Regions from separate parts of the Homo sapiens genome. Here region 1 is linked to region 2. The links are contacts of gene promoters, found by promoter capture Hi-C in blood cells and fetal thymus (Javierre and others, 2016). All regions are on one chromosome and are shown on one strand. Each heading gives the region's core, a stretch centred on a gene start or on the middle of the fragment in contact. The rest is flanking DNA. Distances are from core to core; before and after follow the strand shown. Region 1 holds the start of LOC105375567 (a long non-coding RNA gene). Region 2 holds the start of GIMAP4 (GTPase, IMAP family member 4).

What was found. The method cuts DNA at HindIII sites, captures the fragments that hold promoters and counts their contacts. A CHiCAGO score of 5 or more calls a contact.
Region 1: a contact is called between a fragment that was not itself captured here and the fragment with the promoter of GIMAP4 in region 2, in 4 of 17 cell types (total CD4 T cells, naive CD4 T cells, M0 macrophages and 1 more). The highest score is 6.1, in total CD4 T cells.

What each region holds. Positions count from the first base shown.
Region 1 is chr7:150,876,212-150,879,415 of GRCh38, reverse strand. LOC105375567 (a long non-coding RNA gene) reads left to right here and starts at 2,286. Exons shown (of 5, transcript XR_928171.3): 1 at 2,286-2,407. The HindIII fragment of the contact is 2,523 bases long and covers 512-3,034 here.
Region 2 is chr7:150,565,504-150,568,644 of GRCh38, reverse strand. GIMAP4 (GTPase, IMAP family member 4) reads right to left here and starts at 1,255. Exons shown (of 3, transcript NM_018326.3): 1 at 1,208-1,255. The HindIII fragment of the contact is 6,433 bases long and covers 1-3,141 here.

The DNA of each region.
Region 1 (3,204 bases), core at 524-3,023, 310 kb before region 2:
ATTTAACTAGATATAAGTGTTTTGCTGGGGAGCAGGTCTGCAGAGCTCCTCATACAATCATTCTGGAAGTGGTCTCTGCTTTTTTCTCTTCCTTCTTTTTTCTTTCTTCCCTTTCTTTTTCTTTCTGTGTGTAGTTTCTGTTTTGTTTTGTTAACCTATGGATCAACAGCAGAAGATGTCAGATGTAAGAAATGATGGTAGGACGTGGGATGCTATTAGTAGGTATATCAGCTAATGTTGAAGACACTACTCTTAAATCAAGGAAAATATGATCAGAATAATAAATTTTTAAAGTATAGTGAACAAATTCTTCAGTAAGGCTGAAGGTTAAAAGTAAAAAGTTTCAAAGCAATACTTTTCTTGGCTCTTCTTTATAATAATTTATTGTCTAGTGAGCTACTAACCCTTTTTCTTTATGACTTGATTGCCCCCGTATGCTAAAATACTTGCTGTTTTACTTTTCCTTTCATTGACATTTACAATCCTTTGTCTTTTAGTAGTTTCACAAGCTTTGAAACAATGTTTAGATAATTTTAAAAAATAAAAATAAAACAATGCTAAGGGTACAATCATTGATGTTTTAAATATATCAGCTGCTATAAGGCACTTTGTCCAATTTTCATAATAATTTTGTCTTAATGGTGTTAAGAGCAAAGATTTAAGATTTACTTTCTTAGTGCCATAAAAATAAGAGCTATTCAGCTGGGTTTCTGAAATATTAAGTGCAATGCAAAAGTTTGTTTGCCTAATATCCCTGGACACCAGGCTTCCCAAAATATCCTGCCCCAGACCATAGCCACATCTTCCCACTAGATTCCTGGGCAACTAGAAACAATGGTAAAGGAAAACAAGGTCACACAATTTTTTTTGAGATGGAGTCTTGCTCTGTCACCCAGGCTGGACTGCAGTGGCGCGATGTCGGCTCACTGCAAGCTCAGCCTCCCTGATTCACACCATTCTCCTGCCTCAGCCTCATGAGTTGCTGGGACTACAGGCGCCCGCCACCACGCCCAGCTAATTTTCTTTTCTATTTTTCGTGGAGATGGGGTTTCACCATGTTAGCCAGGATGGTCTTGATCTCCGACCTCGTGATCCACCCGCCTCGGCCTCCCAAAGTGCTGGGATAACAGGCGTGAGACACTGTGCTCGGCTAAGGTCACACTAATTGTTAGCTGGGAGTGGACCCCAAACCTGTTGAAAGAACCCATCAGCTTTCCTTTAAGAAGGTAATGCCACAGACCACAACAGATAATTGAGGGTTATTCTGTGAGCTTCCACTAAAGCTAAAACATGTGTGGAAGGGACAGAAGAGAGGATAACAGGTTTGCTGGCCTGTTTACCACTTGGGGACGTTTGGATGGATGATGAAGAAGAAAAAGAATCAAAAGGACTGGGGCTCATCACAGGTGGGAATAGTATAATATTAGCTCTTCATTCAGAACCATGGTAGCAAAAAGAGAGAAAACTGCATCTGTGGACTGAATTATTCCCCTCAGCCCTCTACCCCAGTGTGTCTTCTTTTTGGGAATAGAGTAGAAAGCCAGGAAAATGGTGGGGATCTAGGAGGAAGCAGGCATCTCCTCTGACTTGCACGTCCCCCTGTTTCACTGTCCTTTGTTAACTCACTGTGTTTGACAGCCACATCTGTGGTCAGCCAGGGGTGCAGCTGCTCCTACTGGTAGCTAATGGCCATAGAACACCAGGGGCGTCTTAAAGCCCCTTCTGTGATCCGCACCACTGCTCCTGGGTATACTCCCAGGGTCTGTTATATGGGTAACATGCACCTCGCAGCAAGATCTCCTGAAATGGGTTAGGACAGGAATATTAGGTAATTGCAAACCCATACTTCCCACCATTCTTGTCTTCAATTATGGCCAATTACATAGTTACGGCAGCCTTGTATTGTTACAATACAATCTTCCTCTATGCTTAGGAACCTCTATGGAGATGGTTGTGTTACTTCAACCAAAGACAAGAAGAGACTAATCTGCAGAATTAGAACAATTCCCTAGTTCTTCAACAAATCAGTGCTGCTTTTCTTGCCAATAATAGACGTGTTTGTATTTCTCCGTGGAAACCCTTGGGGTAAACATGTTGCTTGTTCTTCCAATAAAGAATTGAACCACCAGAGGGCCTCAGGCGACTCAGGAGGTTTGGGAAGAGACAAAGGCACATGCTTAGAGGGTCTGGAGAAGGCGAGGAAGAAGGAAGGGAGCCAAGTAAAACATGTGACTGACCAGGGGCTTTGGAGAAGACAAGCCCTGCAGGAAGGCACGCATGTGGTCATTCTGTCTGTAGCCTCCCATTCCTCCCTGCTTTCCCCAGCTGCATCTACCTGGATCCTGAATTTGAACCAAGTGGTCCAAACGGCCCGGTCACCTGAGCAACCCCTCTGCAGGAACCGCAGGTGTGGGCGGGGTGGTGGGGAGGAGGCGGGGGGGTGGGGGAAAGGCGGGGGGTGGGGGGAGCTCAGCGGCGCCATCTAGCGTCCAGACAGCGGTGGCTCTGGGAAAGCTGATTGTTTTCTTAGCCAGAGGAGGAAGAGAAGGTTGGTCCTCAGCGCCTGGACGCCTGGTAGACGATAGGGGATGACATGATGAGTAAAATAAGGACAGGAACACGCCGAATCCCCTTTCATAATGATAGGACCACGCCAAATCCCCTTTCTTTTTAAAATTTGACATATACCCTTGAATATATATGTATTCTTATAAAATATGGTTATCTGGTATGTATTTATGTATATTGATATAAAGCTGCAGATTTAAAAATAGTACTTCTTTCATCTCTCTCCATCTACATAGTCTTCGTGGTTTTCAGTAAAATGATAATTTCTGGATTACTTAGATGTAGTTATTATGATCCAACCCTTGAATAAGGGGAGTTGAGAGTTGGTGAAACATCCCTGTCTCAATATTTGTTCATGCCATATTTCCTTTGAAAGAATTTACAGATAAAGGCATCAAATACCTGAAAAAGTAACAAGTTTACTATATTTTACTTGAGAATTTGTATATATATTTTTAAGAAAGCTTTTTAGTTTTGGCGTAATTATAAACTCACAAGAGGTAGCAAAAAGAGTACGGAGTTCTGTGAACCTTCAACTGGATTTCTCTAATGGTGACATCTTGCAATGGACTGAGTATGTCTCCCTCAAATTCATGTGTTGAAATCTTAATCTCCATAGTGGTAGCATTAGGAGAT
Region 2 (3,141 bases), core at 6-2,505:
TGCTTCTTGCCTTTGATTGATCATTATGTCCAGCCCACATCTGATCTGTGAAAATGACAATCCATTCCTTTATTAATTAATATGTAGTGTTATAGAAACATGGTATTAATTTTAAATGTTTTATTTCATTGCTACCTACAAACATTTTGCAATGGAGAAAGATATTTGAAGAACTCTTATTGGAGCAGACTTTGAACAAAACAGGCAGAAAATGGTAGTTGTTAAAGACAGAGTCACCTCATAGGAAGCCAACAAATATGAAACACTGTGAAAAGCCAGATATTTCTTTTGAATGACTATTTCTTTATCCTTCAAGAATAGGGTATAGGAAACAGCTTCTTGTAAACAAGAGAAATCATGGCATTTTTTAAAAATCAGCTTTGGTGGCTGGTGTTAGGAGAGAGGATAGGACACCAGCAAGAAGAAAACAATACTGTGACATTCTGGGTTTTTGTGACATTCTCTGGGTGTTTCTTCATATCCTCCTTCTAGTGTGTGGGCTCTTTAATGCTGCTCTGCTGTTAATAATTCAGAGGCAAAGCCAGGAGACTGTGCTTCTGTAGGTGCTGACTTCAGGTGGCTGAATTCTCCTCTCTCTGCCTAAGGAACAAGCACCCATCAGCATCCAGCTTCTCCTGAACTGTAGAGAGTCACACCAGGTGGCATCTCCCTCCTCCTACCCGCTAAAGGGGAGCTCAATGCCCAGTAAACCCAGGACTGTCCCTGAGGAGACAGTTTCCCTAACGGGCAGCTCCGAGCAGACAGTTAACCCTGTAACAAGACCTCAGACTGCAGAGCCTCCAATCCTGACCTGGGTGCAGTCTTTGTGGGGCCACATATGGAGCTGTGCCCCTTACACATCCCAATGTTCCTCTTCCCACCAGCTCCCCCAGAGCTAATTCTGTCCGCTCACCCAACTTTATCCCTGGAAGAATCAAAGTTTCTATATAAATTCCACAACCAGCGAGAGGAAACATTTATTTGTAAAACAAGTATCCTCTGAGCAGCAATCTCTGGAAGAGGCATTGATTTGTAGGGCTCAGCCTTGAAAACAGATCACAGCCTAAAATTAGCAAAGCCAGGAAACGGGAACCAGCGAGAATATAGTCTGAAAACATGTTTACCAGACGATTTAAGATACAGGTCCCTCCTCACCAAAATCGCACATTCGTCCCGACCCCCACCACACACACCCCTATTCCCTTACCTGAAAAATCAGGATCTTGCACCCCTCTCTGATTTTGCACACAATACTAAGCCAGGATGTTGAGAAACAGGAGAAGAGAGGAAGTGAGGGGAGGAGCTGTCCAGATTTACTTGTGCAAGGGACCTGCCCACCTGATCATCCAGCAGCTCTAATAGAACTTTCTGCAGGGATGGGGTTGTTCTGTGCTGTCCAAGATGGTGACCCTTAGCCACACGTGACTACTGAGCGCTTGAAATGTGACGAGTGTGATTGCAGTTCTGAATTTTAAATTTTATTTTGTTTCAATTTATTTAAAGTTAAATAGCTACTCCATTGTCAGAATTCTAAAAGGCAAAGTCAGGCAGAACAACTTGCACCAGGCATTTTCCCCAGAAGGAAAGAAGGAATATTCAGCTTGGTATGCCTGGTGGCTACCATACTGAACCTTGCAAAGGCTCTGCAGTGAGACAAAAAACATGGGTCATGCTGTGACATTCTGGAAGAAACTTCTGGGCCAAAACTAGAGAGTTATCAGTTATTCTGAAAGACCCTTGAGCCCCTGAACCCCTGCTCAGCACAACAGGCCTCCCAGCTAAGCCCCCATACCCCTTTCTCCCAGTACCTCAGGTATGTCCTCTGAGTCCACAGTGTGTCCTTATTTCCAGGGTATGTCCATGAGTCATCTGCTAGAAGCAAAAGAGAGTAAATGACTTTCACTGGACTGACTAGGATGGGCCCAAAATTCACCTCCTGAGATGGTCCTGGAACCACTGAAATATTCTAAACACTGACATCTGACACTACTTACCACTAAAATGGAAACTTTGAGAGTATTGTAATGGGGTCCCAGCTCACCGTTATAACCAGTTATTTTTCCATTGTAAAAGGGGTCTCAATTTACCATTATACCCCACAGCTGAGACCTTATTTAGAATTACATAGCACTTTAGTAATTATAAAATTGCTAATAATTCTAAAGAGAACTGTAAGAGAAAGACATACATTTCTTTGAGGATAGAATGTGATTGGCCCTGGGTATACAAGCACAGGATGGCTACACTAAAAAGCAGAACAAGGCAATGGAATACATCTTGCACCAACAGTAAGGATAATTTACATTCCAGAGCAACATGACTTAAATAACAAAGACCACTTGGTCCCTTGGTTTGACAGGCAAACGAAGGCAAGTCCAAAAGAACAGGCAGCATGAGAAAGCATCTCCGCGATTCTGAACTGAGATACCTTAAAAGACTAGGATTATATTTTGTTTCTGAAGCCTAAACCTGGCTAGAAGGTATATATTATTCTATTTAATTACAGAAATTGATGCAAAATATAGTATTTATTTTTAGTACTATTAAAGCACTGGATCATTACTTAGGGAATCTTTATTCAGGTTACAGGGATCACTGCAGTAGGAAAGTTCTCTGTTAGGGACTACATTTGCAGTGAGCACCACGTTTCATCTAATGCTTTAACAATAAAGCAATGTGTAGACAAAAATGTCTACATTAAAGATCCAGAAATGAAAACAATAATTTGTGATACCACATTAAAAATTTAGAAAAGGAACAGCAAATTGAACCTAAAGTAAGGAGGATGAAGGAAATACTAAAGGGAAGAAATCTTGAAACAGAAAAAAAAAATAGAGAAAACCAATAAAATCAAACATGAATTCTTTGGAAATAATTAATAAAATTGATAAGCCTCTATCTACATAAATCAAGAAAAGGGGCAAAACATACAGTATACAAGTTATTAATATCAGGAATGGGAACGAGATCATGCAGGCATTAAAGGGGTTGGGCCTGATCACCTCAACATCTAGCTCCAGTTAAAAAAGGGGGAGAATCAGGAGGTTATGTATGCTAACCTCCAAAAACATATGAAAGAGACAGTTCAACCTACTGCACCCTCAGGGGAAGCTCCGGAATGGCCACCCCCACCTAAGCCTT